4 separate regions of the Homo sapiens genome follow, and all the other regions are linked to region 4. Evidence: promoter capture Hi-C in 16 types of primary human blood cells and fetal thymus (Javierre and others, 2016). All regions are on one chromosome and are shown on one strand. The core of a region is centred on a gene start or on the middle of the fragment in contact, and the rest is flanking DNA. Distances in the headings are between cores, read along the strand shown.

Evidence for each region. The method cuts DNA at HindIII sites, captures the fragments that hold promoters and counts their contacts. A CHiCAGO score of 5 or more calls a contact.
Region 1: a fragment that was not itself captured here is called in contact with the fragment with the promoter of KRTAP4-2 in region 4 in 1 of 17 cell types (endothelial precursors); the score reaches 5.1 in endothelial precursors.
Region 2: a contact is called between a fragment that was not itself captured here and the fragment with the promoter of KRTAP4-2 in region 4, in 5 of 17 cell types (total CD4 T cells, naive CD8 T cells, naive B cells and 2 more). The highest score is 7.1, in total CD4 T cells.
Region 3: a fragment that was not itself captured here is called in contact with the fragment with the promoter of KRTAP4-2 in region 4 in 1 of 17 cell types (naive B cells); the score reaches 5.4 in naive B cells.

What each region holds. Positions count from the first base shown.
Region 1 is chr17:40,979,624-40,982,834 of GRCh38, forward strand. It overlaps KRT40 (keratin 40), which reads right to left. Exons shown (of 7, transcript NM_001389244.1): 3 at 2,684-2,840; 4 at 1,367-1,528; 5 at 1,162-1,287. LOC107985072 (a long non-coding RNA gene) reads left to right here. Exons shown (of 4, transcript XR_001752886.2): 3 at 826-984; 4 at 2,705-3,211. Among named protein-coding and RNA genes, the nearest start is that of KRT40, 3.1 kb to the right of the region's middle. RefSeq lists an enhancer at 383-984. The HindIII fragment of the contact is 2,975 bases long and covers 4-2,978 here.
Region 2 is chr17:41,318,853-41,322,410 of GRCh38, forward strand. No RefSeq gene overlaps it. Among named protein-coding and RNA genes, the nearest start is that of KRTAP17-1, 4.9 kb to the left of the region's middle. The HindIII fragment of the contact is 3,454 bases long and covers 326-3,558 here.
Region 3 is chr17:40,933,770-40,937,230 of GRCh38, forward strand. It overlaps KRT23 (keratin 23), which reads right to left. Exons shown (of 9, transcript NM_015515.5): 2 at 2,439-3,184. The coding sequence starts at 2,834. The region is part of intron 1 of LOC107985072 (a long non-coding RNA gene); the gene reads left to right. Among named protein-coding and RNA genes, the nearest start is that of KRT23, 2.1 kb to the right of the region's middle. The HindIII fragment of the contact is 2,438 bases long and covers 993-3,430 here.
Region 4 is chr17:41,176,879-41,180,404 of GRCh38, forward strand. KRTAP4-2 (keratin associated protein 4-2) reads right to left here and starts at 1,343. Exons shown (of 1, transcript NM_033062.4): 1 at 568-1,343. The coding sequence starts at 1,286. The coding sequence ends at 876. The HindIII fragment of the contact is 17,641 bases long and covers 1-3,526 here.

The DNA.
Region 1 (3,211 bases), core at 241-2,740, 200 kb before region 4:
TGAAGCTTAAGGACTATCCACAACATATGAGAGGAAAGATTGAGTTTGGGCTCTTGGCAGGGAGGGGTAGTATAGTGCTATTAAGAGAAGAGGCTCTGGATACCAGAGGCTGGGACTGGCATATGTGTGGTAAGGGGATGAAGAGAGGTTGGTTAATGGGTGCAAACATACAGTTAGACAGAAAGAATATGTTTTCATGTTGGACAGCAGAGAAGTGTGACTACAGTTAACAACAATACACTGTGCATTTCAAAATAGCTAGATGGGAGGACTTGAAATGCTCCCAACACATAGAAATGATAAATACTTGAGGTGATGGATGCTCTAAATATCCTGACTTGATCATTACACATTCTATGCATGTAACAAAATATCACATCTACGTAAAAAAAATTTACGCATATTATATATCAATAAAAATAAATTTAAAAAGAGAGAGAGAAGAGACTCTGGGATTCAACTGGCTGAACTCAGCTTCCAAGTTTGCCTCTTAGAATTGCATCCTTTGCAAGTTACTTAATCTGAGTCTCAGTTTTCCTTATCTGTGTCATGGGATAAAGGTATCTATCCGGTAAAGTTACTGTGAGCCTTAAATCAGCATAGTGCCTCTCACAGGATGAATGCTCAGCTATTGTTCTTCTAGGTGTTCTCCGCAGGGCCTAATGACATGCACACAGTGGTGCTTGACCAGAACTGGTTCATGTCATCTTGAACGCATGGTGTTCCTGTTGCTTGAGTGGGGGGTGGTGCAGTGAAGGATAAGGTTGAAGTGTAGATCCTGGGAAACTGTAGGATGAAATGTTTGAAAATGATTCTTTGTTTTAGATATAACAGTGAGCCTGGAAAACTGGCCTGAATCAAATGAGAATTAAAACCTGCCAGAATGCTTAAGCGACCATGGCCCGGAGGTTTCTCTCCAGCTCTGCTTCTCCCTCCCTGTCTCTGGAGGCTGCTGCAGCATCAGACTCAAGCCCAGGAGTGAAGGTAAGGCATCTTAGAGGACAAGCTGTGGACCTGTCACTTCTGCTTCTATTAATAGCTGGGTAAACGGCAGTACTCGGGAAAGGCAAGGAAATGTGATCCTCGGATATGGAAGAGGGCTTAACATCTCAGGGCCTGACTTATCAGTGACACAACGGACACTGCCTTTGCCTCACGCACCAGGCTTTGCTGTGCTTGGAGCTCAATTTCCAGAGCACTGGCTGTGCGTTTCAGTTCCAAGATCTCCATCTGGCAGCCCTGCAGCTGCTCCGCGCTGGACAGTTGCTGCTGATTCAGCTCTTCTGTCTGAAACACAGACACCATTAGAGAATTCAAAAAAGGCAGAAGTCTGTAAGCCTGACATTTTTTCAATCTGGGTACTGACCTGAACAGCCAACCATTCTTCAGCTTCTCTGCGATTGTTGGCAAGCACCGTTTCACACTGACAGCGCATCTCATCCAGGACCCTGTTGAGGTCAAGGGTGGGGGCAGTGTCCAGCTCCACACTGAGGCGGTCGCCAAGCTGTTCACGAAGCAAGTTGACTTCCTGAAAGTGGGATGGTGTAAAGAATGTCACAGAATGGTGGGGAAAAATCCATTTGACATCCAATGGCATTCTACTTCTGTTTTTTGGAGCAGTGGGTAAAAGTGTGAGATTTTGATTCAGATTGCCTGGGCTGAATCTCTTTTCACCACTTAGAAGGGCCTCAGTTTCTTCGTCTGTAAAATGGACATAATAATTGGACATTTTTCCAGAAAGTTATTGTGAGATCTAGAAGAGTCAATCTACACATAATTAACTTATAAAAGTTAATTATGACACATAGTAAGGTGTCAATAAATGTTAGCTATGATTGTCATCAACAAACGTTCAAAGAGCAAATGTACTTTGTTACATCATTCAGCTTTTCATTTTCTAGCTTTATCAATATATCAGTGGCTGTATATTTTATGATTTTTAGAAGTTTATAAATGCGGAATATTTAAAAACACTGGTCCAGATAGTGCACAGTCTTTATCCCTTTTTTGAAATGGACTTCACAGTCTGTTCCTCAGCCTGATTTTCATACCCTGTGGACTGGAGCTAGGGGTGGCATAAAGCCTCCAAAGGAAGCCATTTGTGAAGTTACCTCCTCCACAAAGGCAAGGGCAGGAGAAGAGTTTGATTCCTTCCTCTGGCGCTGTCTAGGGGTTATTTCACACCTTAAATCAGAGACACACTGGAATGATCAGGTTGAATAGTAATAATGCCTCGAGTAGTTTTTGTTTGTTTGTTTGTTTGTTTGTTTTTTGAGATGGAGTCTCGCCCTGTCACCCAGGCTGGAGTGCAGTGGTAAGATCTCGGCTCACTGCAACCTCCGCCTCCTGAGTTCAAGTGATTCTCCTGCCTCAGCCTCCCGAGTAGCTAGGACTACAGGCGCCTGCCACCATGCCCAGCTAATTTTTGTATTTTTAGTAGAGATGAGGTTTCATCATATTGGTCAGGCTGGTCTCGAACTCCTGACCTTGTGATCCTCCTGCCTCAGCCTCCCAAAGTGCTTGGATTACAGGTGTGAGCCACCATGCCTGGCCCTGCCTCAAGTAGTTTTATTCCAGCTTAAACAACATCTGCCCAAATTCGATTTACAAACATCAACAGATCATCTGTCAATGTAAGTACGTTACTCTCGGAGTCCTTCAGCGGAGTTGCCACTTTCCTTACCTCTTCATGGTTTTTCTTAAGGCAAAGGAGATCTTCCTTCAGAGACTCCACATGGGCCTCCAGATCAGATTTGCACAGGGTCAGTTCCTCCAGGATCCCATGCAGGCTGCTGATGTCAGCCTCTAACAGCTGGCGAAGGGACAGTTCACTCTCGTACCTTTCACAGCAAAAGAGAAATCCAACGCTTACTTTGCTGAACGCTGTGCAAAGTGTGGGGATACATGGAGGATCGACACACGGACTTCAGGAAGCCATGTGCATAATTTCTCTTAATTCCTAAGTAATGATAAATTCAAGCTTTTAAAACATTCTTAACTTTAAAATATTATATAGAGAATATTTGTGTGTGTGTGTGTGTGTGAGAGAGAGAGATTGAGAGAGAGAGAGCCATAAGTTATTTTCAAATTAAAATTAAAGCCGGGCGTGGTGGCTCATGCCTGTAATCCCAGCACTTTGGGAGGCCAAGGCGGGCAGATCACCTGAGGTCAGGAGTTCGAGACCAACCTGGCCCACATGGTGAAACCCTGT
Region 2 (3,558 bases), core at 803-3,302, 140 kb after region 4:
CATGAATTTTGAAATTTGTAACTAATATATGTTATTATATATTTATATATGTATATATCTTTATGGATACTTATCTACATTAATATAAATATTTACATGCAGATATTTGAAAAAACACTAAAAGGAAAACTAAAGTATTAGCAGTAAATGTATTTATTGTGGCATGATAAATGATTTTTATTTTCTTCTCTTTTTTGTATTTTTTAGAAATTTGCAGTGTGTAGGTATGAAATTTATAATGTAAACATTTTATTATTATTATTATTTGAATACAGTGTCAAAGGCAAATGAAAACCTGGGAACAATACAAGTAACTCATAGACAAAGCTTGCTTTCATTTTCTATTTAACAAAGGATTTCCATCAATCAAAGAGAAAGACCAGCAACCGAGTAGAAAAATTGACAATGGAGATGAAAAGATAATTCATGGAAGAGGGAATATGAATAGCATTTGAGCATATGAAATATTGCTTAGTTGCATTCACAATAACAGAAAAGCAGATTAAAACAATTCCAAAATCCTATCTGTTACCAGATTTGCAAGGTCATATATTTTGATAACACATTATGTAATAAGGAGTGAAGAGACAGATAGTCTCACACATTGCTGATGGGAGTGTAAATTGGTACAACCTTTATGGCAATATCCATCAAAATTACCAATGCAAAAACTAATTGATCCAATAATTTATATTCTAAGAGTTTACGACAGGGATATATCAAGATATATATAAAATGATGTAAGTATACAGTATCTGTTGCAACATGGCTCCAGAATCAACACTATCAAACTACCAACATCATTTTTAACAGAATTTGAAAAAACTATTCTAAATTTCATATGGAACCAGAAAAGATCCCAAAGAGCCAATGCAATCCTAAGCAGAAAGAACAAAGTGGAAGGTATCACGTTACCCAATTTCAAACTATAGTGTAAAGCTACAGTAACCAAAACAGCATGGTACTGGTACAAAAACAGACATATACAATGGAACAGAATAGAGAATCCGGAAATAAAGCTGCTCACCTACAGCCACCTGATCTTTGACAAAGTTAACAAAAATAAGCATTGGGGAAAGGACTCCCGATTCAATAAATGGTGCTGGGATAACTGGCTAGCCATATGCAGAAGAATTAAACAACCTCTGTATTTCACCATATAGAAAAATTAACTCAAGATGGATTAAAGATTTAAATGTAAGGCCTCAAACTATAAGAATCCTAGAAGAAAAACTAGGAAACATCATTCTGAACACTAGTCTTGGGAAAAAATGCATTACTAAGTTCTCAAAAACAAATGCAACAAAAACAAAAATTGACAAGTGGGATCTATTTAAATGAAAGAGCTTCAGCACAGTAAAAGAAACTATCAACAGAGTAAACAGATAACCTATAGAATGGAAGAAAATATCCACAAACTATGCATCCAAAAAAGATCTAATATCCAGAATCTATGAAAAACTTAAACAATTCAACAAGGAAAAAACAAATGACCCTGTTAAAAAGTGGGCAAAAGACATGAACAGACACTTCTCAAAAGAAGACATGCGAGTGGTCAACAAACATGTGAAAAAATGCTCCACATCATTAATCATCAGAGAAATGCAAATCAAAACCACAGTAAGATACCATCTCACACCAGTCAGAATGGCAATTATTAAAAAGTCAAAAAACAACAGATGTTGGTGAGGGTGTAGAGAAAAGGGACCGCTTATACACTGTTGGTGGGAATGTAAATTAGTTCAGCCACTGTGGAACGCAGTTTAGAGATTTCTCAAAGAACTTCAAATAGAACTACCATTCAACCCAGCAATCCCATTACTGGGTGTATTAGTCTGTTCTTGCACTACTATGAAGAAATGCCTGAGACTGGGTAATTTAGAAAGAAAAGAGGATTAATTGGCTCACAGTTTCATAAGCTATACAGGAAGCATGATGCAGGCATCTTCTCAGGTTCTGGGGAGGCCTCAGAAAACTTACAATCATGGCAGCAGGCAAAGGGTAGCTGGCACTTCACATGGCCAGGGCAGGAGGAAGAGAGAGAGTGGGGAGATGCTACACACTTTTAAATGACCAGATCTCACAAGAACTCACTCACTATCACAACCAAGGGGGCTAGTGCTAAACCATTCATCAGAAATCACCCCTGTGATCCAATCACCTCCCACCAGGACCCACCTGCAACGCTGGGAATTAACAACTGAACATGAGATTTGGGCAGGAACACAGATCCAAATTATATCACTGGGTATACATCCAAAAGAAAATAAATCGTTCTACCAAAAAAACACACATCCACTTATATGTTCATTGCAGCACTATTCACAATAGCAAAGACATAGAATCAGCCTAAATGCCCATCAGCAGTGGACTATGTAAGGAAAATGTGGCACACATACACCATGGAATACTACCTGGCCATAAAAAAAAAAATCATGTCATTTGCAGCAACATGGATGCAGCTGGAGGCCATTATCCTAAGTGAATTAATACAAGAACAGAAAGCTAAATACCATGTGTTCTCACTTACAAGTGGGAGCTAAACAGTGAATTCACATGGACGTAAATATGGCAACAATAGACACTGGAGACTATGAGAGGGGAAAGGGAAGGAGAGGAGCAAGGGTAGAAAAACTAACTATTGGTTACTATGCTCACTATCTGGATGATGAGATCAATTGTACCACAAACCTCAGCATATATACCCAGGTAGCAAACCTACACGTATACCCCCTGAATCCAAAAGAAAAGTTGAAATTATTTTTTTAATTACTCTCCAGAAAAATTGTCCTCATTTGTGTTCACTTCACAGTGCCTTCGCCAATATTAGTTGTTATTTTTAAAATCTCTTTGTCAATTGGGTAGGCCAATTATGAAGTCTCATTATAGTATTTATTTGTACTTAGTAATTATCATTGCATATTTTTATAGGCCACTGTTATTTCCTTTTTAGAAATTATCTGCTCATTCTAATTAGCTACCCATCTTTCCCACCTTACTTATATGAACTTATTTTATTATGCCAGGTATATTAACTTTTCGTTGTGTCACTCACACATGTTGCAAAATTTGTCCCAGGGTGTATCACTTTCTTTTAGTTGTGTCTATATTTTTACGCACAGAAATTTCTTTCTATGTAGGGAAATCTTTTTTTCCTAGTGTTTTGTTTCAAAAGTTCTCCTCCATCCCCAAATCAGACAACTATTTGCTTTATTTTCATCTATTTTATGGTTGTATTTTTTATACTTAATGCTGCTATCCATCAGGAATTTACTTTGGTGTGTGGCAGATACTGCTTTACAAAAAAAAAAAAAAATCCTAGTTTTCCTAATTGGGGAACTTGACTGCCTATTAAATGAAGTTTGCTGACAAGATCCTGCCTCTACAAAAAATTAAAAAATAAAAAATTTGCTGGGTGTGGTGGTGCATGCCTGTAGTCCCAGCTACTCAGAAGGCTGAGGCAGGAGGATGGCTTGAGCCTAAGAGCTCAAGGCTGCAGTGACTGAGCTCAAGGAGCCATGATCAAGCCACTACACTCCAGCCTGGGCAATGGAGCGA
Region 3 (3,461 bases), core at 962-3,461, 240 kb before region 4:
CATGGTAATAAGTGGATGAAGATGGGTTGAGAAACGATATATGAGGCATAGGTTTTTTACTGAGTGTTGTAATTAATCACCCAGATTCTCCTGAAGGCCCTCAGTTCATTCTTTTAAAAGCAAGTTGGCATATTCTTGCAGCATTGTTGCTTCAGGATGTTTGATCTACTAGGGAGAGGAAAACAGAATGTTTGACTGTAAACAAAAATGCCAAATATAGTCCGATTGAGAATCATTCAAGGTGTTTTATTTATGATACTCCTATGACTGTGTCCAATTCTGGATTTCAAAAGGATTGAATTAATTTTTAAGCTCAACTTGTTATCAACCTTTTGAGTGATATTTAATATACCTAAAGTGAGGGTACGGGAGAACTGTATCCACTCAGAGCATTTCACCAAGGTCCAGGAAGGATAAGCCCCAGGTAATTGTGGGACCTCCTTGCACCTCTGTTTTCTCATCTTCAAATGAGGGAGGTTGGGGTAGATAGACAACCTCAACTTTAAAGAGTTTCTTTCTTCAAGTGTAGAGAAAACACAATGTTAGAGGTAAAAATCCAGAAAAGAGTGAAATTCAAAGCCAAAGAAGTTTCCTATTCAATCTCAGAACCCAGAATTCCAGGTCATCTGAAGGGTGGGCAGGTTGCTCCCCACACCCCCCATTGCACCTACTCACTTTTCTCAATTCTGTTCCAAAGGATTTAGACAATGATTAGGTCTCAGTCTCCTTATCTGTAAGTTGAGAATACAAATACCTGCTCCACACAGTTGTGAGGATTAAATGAGACAATGTGTATGAAGTATGTGATGTGTGGTTAATGATGCAAGTATAATGCATTATCTTTATTCATACTAAGTGTCATTTTTATATGAGGTGGGCTAGGCAGCACTACACTGTAGTGAAATTTATGAGGCTACTGGAAACAGACCTGAGTTAGAATCCCACCTCTGCTTCTTGCTGATGGCTTTGGATGGCTATTTCACTTTTTTCCAAGCTTCCATTTCCTTACAGGGTTCTTGCAGAATCAAATAAAATAATATGGAACATTTCCATCATTGCAGAAAACTCTTGGATAGTGTTGACATGTGTATTAAATATCCAGCAGGATGCCTAGGTACATAATAAGTGCTCAGTAAACATTTCCCTCTCTTTCCTCCCTTTCTTTTTTTTAAATCTCTTCCGCGAGCTCATAAATTATTTGACTGGTTCTAACCTTGTATTTCTTTTGGGAGTCATGGTCTCCCTTTGCTCTCCATTTGCAAAAATCTTCAATTCCTCCTTTCTACAACCAAAGCAACTTTATTAAACAAAAAAACATGATGAGGACTGTTGAGTCACCTTGTTTTTTTTTTTTTTTCATAAAGACAACCATGCACTATATAGTTAAGGTAATTACAGTCAGTTATTAGGTTGATTATTCAATAATTAGGGTTCATTACAAGGACAGATTTATATTATCTTGACTGGTCCTTCCTACATTCAAGCAAGGATGACTGAGCATTGTGAAATAATATATATAAATATTGGAAACTTGTGATACCCTTTCTAGGGGAGGTTAAATCATGGTCTTACAGGGAATTTTCTGGGACTGCTTTATATAAGAGGGGAGTTAGATAGCTTTAAAACATAACCTATGAGATGATTGGATTCCTTCTACTTCTAGCTAATGTTATGAGACATCCCAGAAGGTATTTGCTTAGCTTTTTTGAGGTTTGGTTAAAGAGTTCGGTTTTTTTTGAACAAGGTCTTTATAGCCATCTCAACTCTCAGATTCTAAAAATTATGCTCATTTTATTATTATTGGTTCTAGCAATATGCCATTGTCAGAACTGTGAGCAACTTTACTGCAAGCAACCCACAAACGGAAATATCTAGGGATGTCATGATGACCTATATGCTGGTGTGGTGACAACTTTTAGGCATAATCTTCAAAATAGTGTAACAGCCTTTTGTCGATGGATAACCACATTGTTCAAAAAAGTTTGAGGTGGAGCAGAACTGAGGTAATGAGAAAGTAAACACTCTCTTATGCCTGGTGCACTGAGCATGCAGCATGAACACCAGCCCTTATCATTTCTATGACATCGTTGGGTCATAAGTGACATTAAACAGCAGCTGGTTGCCTCACATTTTAAAGATGTTTTTGGTCTGTGAGAAATCAGTAGTCTCATTTTTGAAACAGTCTGTAGCACTTCTATCATTTTTGCTGCCTTCTTTTTCTACATTATCCATGGACAGTAGACTAATTAAACAAAACAGACGTTTCCCACTCCAAATTTAAGATATAATAAGAAAACATCCCCCAAAACCTTTGTGCACAATTACTTCAAGCGCTGATGCCATTTTCCTGGAAATTGTCTTCTGGACTCATTTTTCCTCCCGAGGGTCCCCTGGCAAAGCAGCCCCATCTGGATCTCCAGGGTCACCCAGCATCTTACCTGCTCCTGCAGGTGTGTGATGTTTTCCTCATACTGGGAATAATCTTTCTTACTGCCAGGATCTCTCTGCTGGTGCCATTTCAGGATGCGGCTTTCCAGCTTCATGTTGGCCTCCTCCAGGGCGCGAACCTTCTCCAGGTAGGAGGCCAGGCGGTCGTTGAGATTCTGCATGGTGGCCTTCCCATTTCCGCCTAGTAGGGGGCTGCTTCTTCCAGAACCCCAAGACCCTCCAGGGGGTGGGCAGCTCCGCGTGGTGAAGGACAGGGAGATGCGGGCTCCCCCCGCACCGCCATGGACGGTGGGAGCCCTGGGGAAGCTCCTGGGCCGGCCCCAGCCACCTCCGGCGCCATGGAAGGAGGCCGAGGGGGTCTGGCTGAAGCTGTGTCCGGAGTTCATGGTCCCATCTGTGTTTGGGACGGGGCTGAGCTCTGCTCCACTCCCTGGCACCGCAGAACTGAGCCGCCCCAGACTGCCCTGGATGGTTTTATGGCCTTTGCTGTGGGAGTTCCCTTCTCTGACAATTGTACCAACAAGATTGTATCATTGTGCAACTTGTGTTTCCTCTTGGTCAATCCCAAAGTGCCCCTGGGCCTTCGCACACTGTTGTTGTTTAGAGCCACATCAATATGACAGTTTGCTTCCTCCCTTCCCCTGGTAACCCGGAGGTGTGGCCCACGACATCAGGCGGGTATTGGGCTCAGGTATCTTTCTAATCTTGCCGTGAAGTTTTTCCATTGTTCATTTACCTGGAATGGGTTAGGTTAAAGTCCACCCAAAAGAAAGCATATTCGATGTAGTATAGATTTCCTTAAAAAAAACCAAAAACCAAAACCAAAACAAAACAACAACAACAGCAACAAAAAACCAGACATTAAACAACAGAGATACACACACCTTTTTCCACCCCCAATAAGCCCCACCTCTAAAGGGAGGGTGAGCGAGCCTGGAGAAGGGAAAGCCAGCTCAGAACAGGATCTCAGGTCCCAGAATAAAGCTTGCTGTGCTGAGGCAGCCGAGAAGGTG
Region 4 (3,526 bases), core at 93-2,592:
TGAAGGACACTAATACTGAGATTAGGAATGCTGCTGTTTTAGATTGTGTGCTCTCTGGGGCAAACCCACAAAAGAGGATCTGAGAACATGTGGTATATTTGGACGATTAACCCAAGAAACACTGGAGGAAACTTGAAGAATGACCCTGGGAAGGAGGGAAAGTCATTATAGAGTGAGTTCATGATCAGAATGTTCCTGCAGGCATCTGGTATAAATCCCGCTGAAGACCTCTGGAAGACTGGTTTGACATACCCCCCACTGGAGGGAAACAAGCCAGGGCATATATTACCAACTCCCACTCATTCTCTGAGTGCTGTTCCTAGAGGCTTTAAGTCTCCAGCCCAGAGTTTGCTCCTTTATCCAGAGAAAGTCCTCAGGTAGAGAGTTCCAGGTGCCTGCTCTAAGGAACCATTTTCCTATGTTTGAATGGAGAGTGCTGATAGGATAGAGGTGGAGCCCCTGATATCATCTGCTGTGGTCTTCTCCCTCTGCAGGGAAGAACATCAGAAAATTTGACAGGTAAGGATGAGAATTCAAGAAGGAAAAATGAGACACAATGCCCGTATATTATTTGTATGCCTCAAAAATTAAAATTTATTTAAGATAGAGGAATAGCTCCATGTGATAAATTATGGTAGAGAGCAAATATTTCAATTCAGGGAACATGGGGTTGACATATTTCAGAGAAAATTCAAACTTGTATTCATTTGGTAGAGGGTAGCAACATAGTGTTTGGTGAGCATATTTGGAGGCCAAACTCAATCCAAGAATTGGTTGGAACTGAGGTTGTCCAATTGGCCTTGCATGATTCAGTTCACAGGTGGATCATATCAAGAATGCTGGTTAATAAAGGCAGGTGAGTATAGGTGAGGGCATCAGCAGCAAGAGCCACTAGAGCAGGTTGGGCGGCAGCAGGTGGACACACAGCAGCTGGGGCGGTAGCAGGTGGTCCTGCAGCAGGTGGTCTGGCCACAGCTGGGGCGGCAGCAGGTGGGCTGGCAGTACACAGACTGGCAGCACTGGGGTCTGAAGCAGCTGGACACACAGCAGCTGGGACGGCAGCAGGTGGTCCTGCAGCAAGTGGTCTGGCAGCAGCTGGGGCTGCAGCAGGTGGGCTGGCAGCACACAGACTGGCAGCACTGCGGTCTGCAGCAGCTGGACACACAGCAGCTGGGGCGGCAGCAGGTGGTCCTGCAGCAGGTGGTCTGGCAGCAGCTGGGACGGCAGCAGTTCTCTAGGCCACAGCCCTGGTCAGAGCACACAGAGCCACAACAGGAGTTGACCATGGTGTCAGAGGGTGGAGGTTCTGGGTGGATTTCCAGGAAGGTGGGTTTGGAAGGTTTGGAAGTTTCCTTGCCCCAGATCCTCTTTTATACCCTGCTAAGGCCTGATGTCATCAGATGCAACACTCTTTCCTTGTTATTATTTGTCCTGATATGTAGGCAATTATCAAATTAGGCAAGTTTGTTGTTCTGGTTAACTTATCCACATAGATGGAAACACTGTCTCCTTTCCCTAATGTGTTAGGACTCCTTAGCTCAGCTCTTCCTGAACCACCTCCTGTGTCTCTCTTACTATAGCTTCCTCCTAGAGCAGCCATGTGACATCTGCCTGTAAGCACATACTATGTGCTTCAGTCTCATTTGCTTAACACATCATGACTACTCTTGGGTGATTACTATTCTTACAGGCCCTTGACTCTTTCTGGTGACTCAGGAGGATAAAGCTGCATTTCAGTCTGATGGCTCCTTCATTATGGGTCAGATGGCCTGTGAAGGTTTCAGTGTGAAACAGATTTCAGTGTGAAACAGATGACCACTGGTGTGAGAACGAGAACACCGTAGGACCTATCGCTTTTTTATCTTCCGCACTCTGAATTGTGACCCATTTTCTAGACCTTCTGATGAGAAATACAGAGCTGTTTTAAGGTGGAAAACTAAGCTGTGAAAGTTTGATGTTTCCTTTTCTACAGAAACAACCCTCCAAAATTCAGATTCAGGGCCTCTTGGGGAATGTTGGCTTCAGAGAACAGCTATACTTAAAGGTCCAAGTCCCTCATTTTTTTGCTCCCTGGGGCAGATTTTCCTTGTGACTTTGCCTTTCTGCCTTCCTAGCTCTAACAGGGCACATGAGCTCATCTCTCCAGGTTCCAAAATTTTCTGGCCAACCCAAATTAGATGACTCAGTATCCTTTGCTTGCTCTAATTCGCTCCCAGCCCTCTTGCTTTCTCTGCTGAATTGCTGGGCCTTGAAGATGTCCTATACTCTGCTGCTTCCTTATAGAAGTTGTTGATCCAATTTCACACTTTACATCTTTGTTTTCAAAAAATAAATCAATAAAGAGAGAAAGAAAGCAGAAAACAGGTATCAAGAACAAAGGATATCAGCCTATATTTTTTCATGTAGGGATGGCTGACTATTGTTTCAAAAATGTGCTATGTTGTCAATTCATTAACTCATCAGTTAATAAATATATATGTATTTCCCCACCCCTGAGGAGTCAAGGAACCCAGGGAAGGGGGTGGAAAAATGTCTGACTTACCATGATAGAAATGTTTTATGAACTGGGCAGCCTCTGCAGATAATCAGGGGAGGAGTTTCAGTGTAAGCTGGTGTTTCTGAGGGAGATCCAAGAACCAGATGGAGGGGATTGGATGAATGAGGGAGATTCCCTTTCTTCTCTCAGGTGCTTATAAGTCTAATAAATCAAATTGTGGTGTTCTTATGATGCTGCTATGTTCCAAGCCAGTTCCTACTCCTGCCCTGGCCCTAATTTCCAGGTGATTCAAGCAGAATGAAAACAACTTGGGCTCCCAAGTGAACCCCTGCTTGGTGCGCTGGCTGGTGTTCTGAGCCTGCACTGTTCTCTGGCTCTGATGTACCCAGACATCATATTTTATTGAGGGATGAAAGTGGGTTCCATGATGCTGTGGAATTAAGACCCTGTGAGCCCCATGGTGGTGTACGAGAACAACTCTAAGATTTCCAGGAGACCTTGTATTCTGGAAAAGAATCGTGCCCTTGAGAAGCCGTGACGATTGGTGCCTGCTGATGATTCAGTAGAGATCACTTTATATTAACTATTTTTCTTCATGATGTGAGTGTGTGTGAGTGTGTGTGTGTGTGTGTGTGTTTTCCTTAAGATAAATTTACATTATATTTAGGAATCTCTCACGATTTCTTCTAGTACTTTAACAATTTCATTTTTTCTACCTCTACTCAGCTATAATTGAAATATAAAATTGTATGTATATAAGGTGTACACCCTGATGCTCTGATATGTATATATTGTGAAATTATTGTCATGATCAAATTAGTTCACCTCCACCACTTCACATAGTTACCATTTTTTGAGTGTGTGTAGTGAGAACATTTTAGATCTAGTCTTTCAGCAAATTTTAAATATACAATACAGTGTAATTAACTACAGTGACCATGCTGTACATTAGATCCTCAGAACCTATTCTTCTTATAAATGAATATTTTCTCCCTTTGACCAACATTTCCTCATTTCCTCCATCCACAA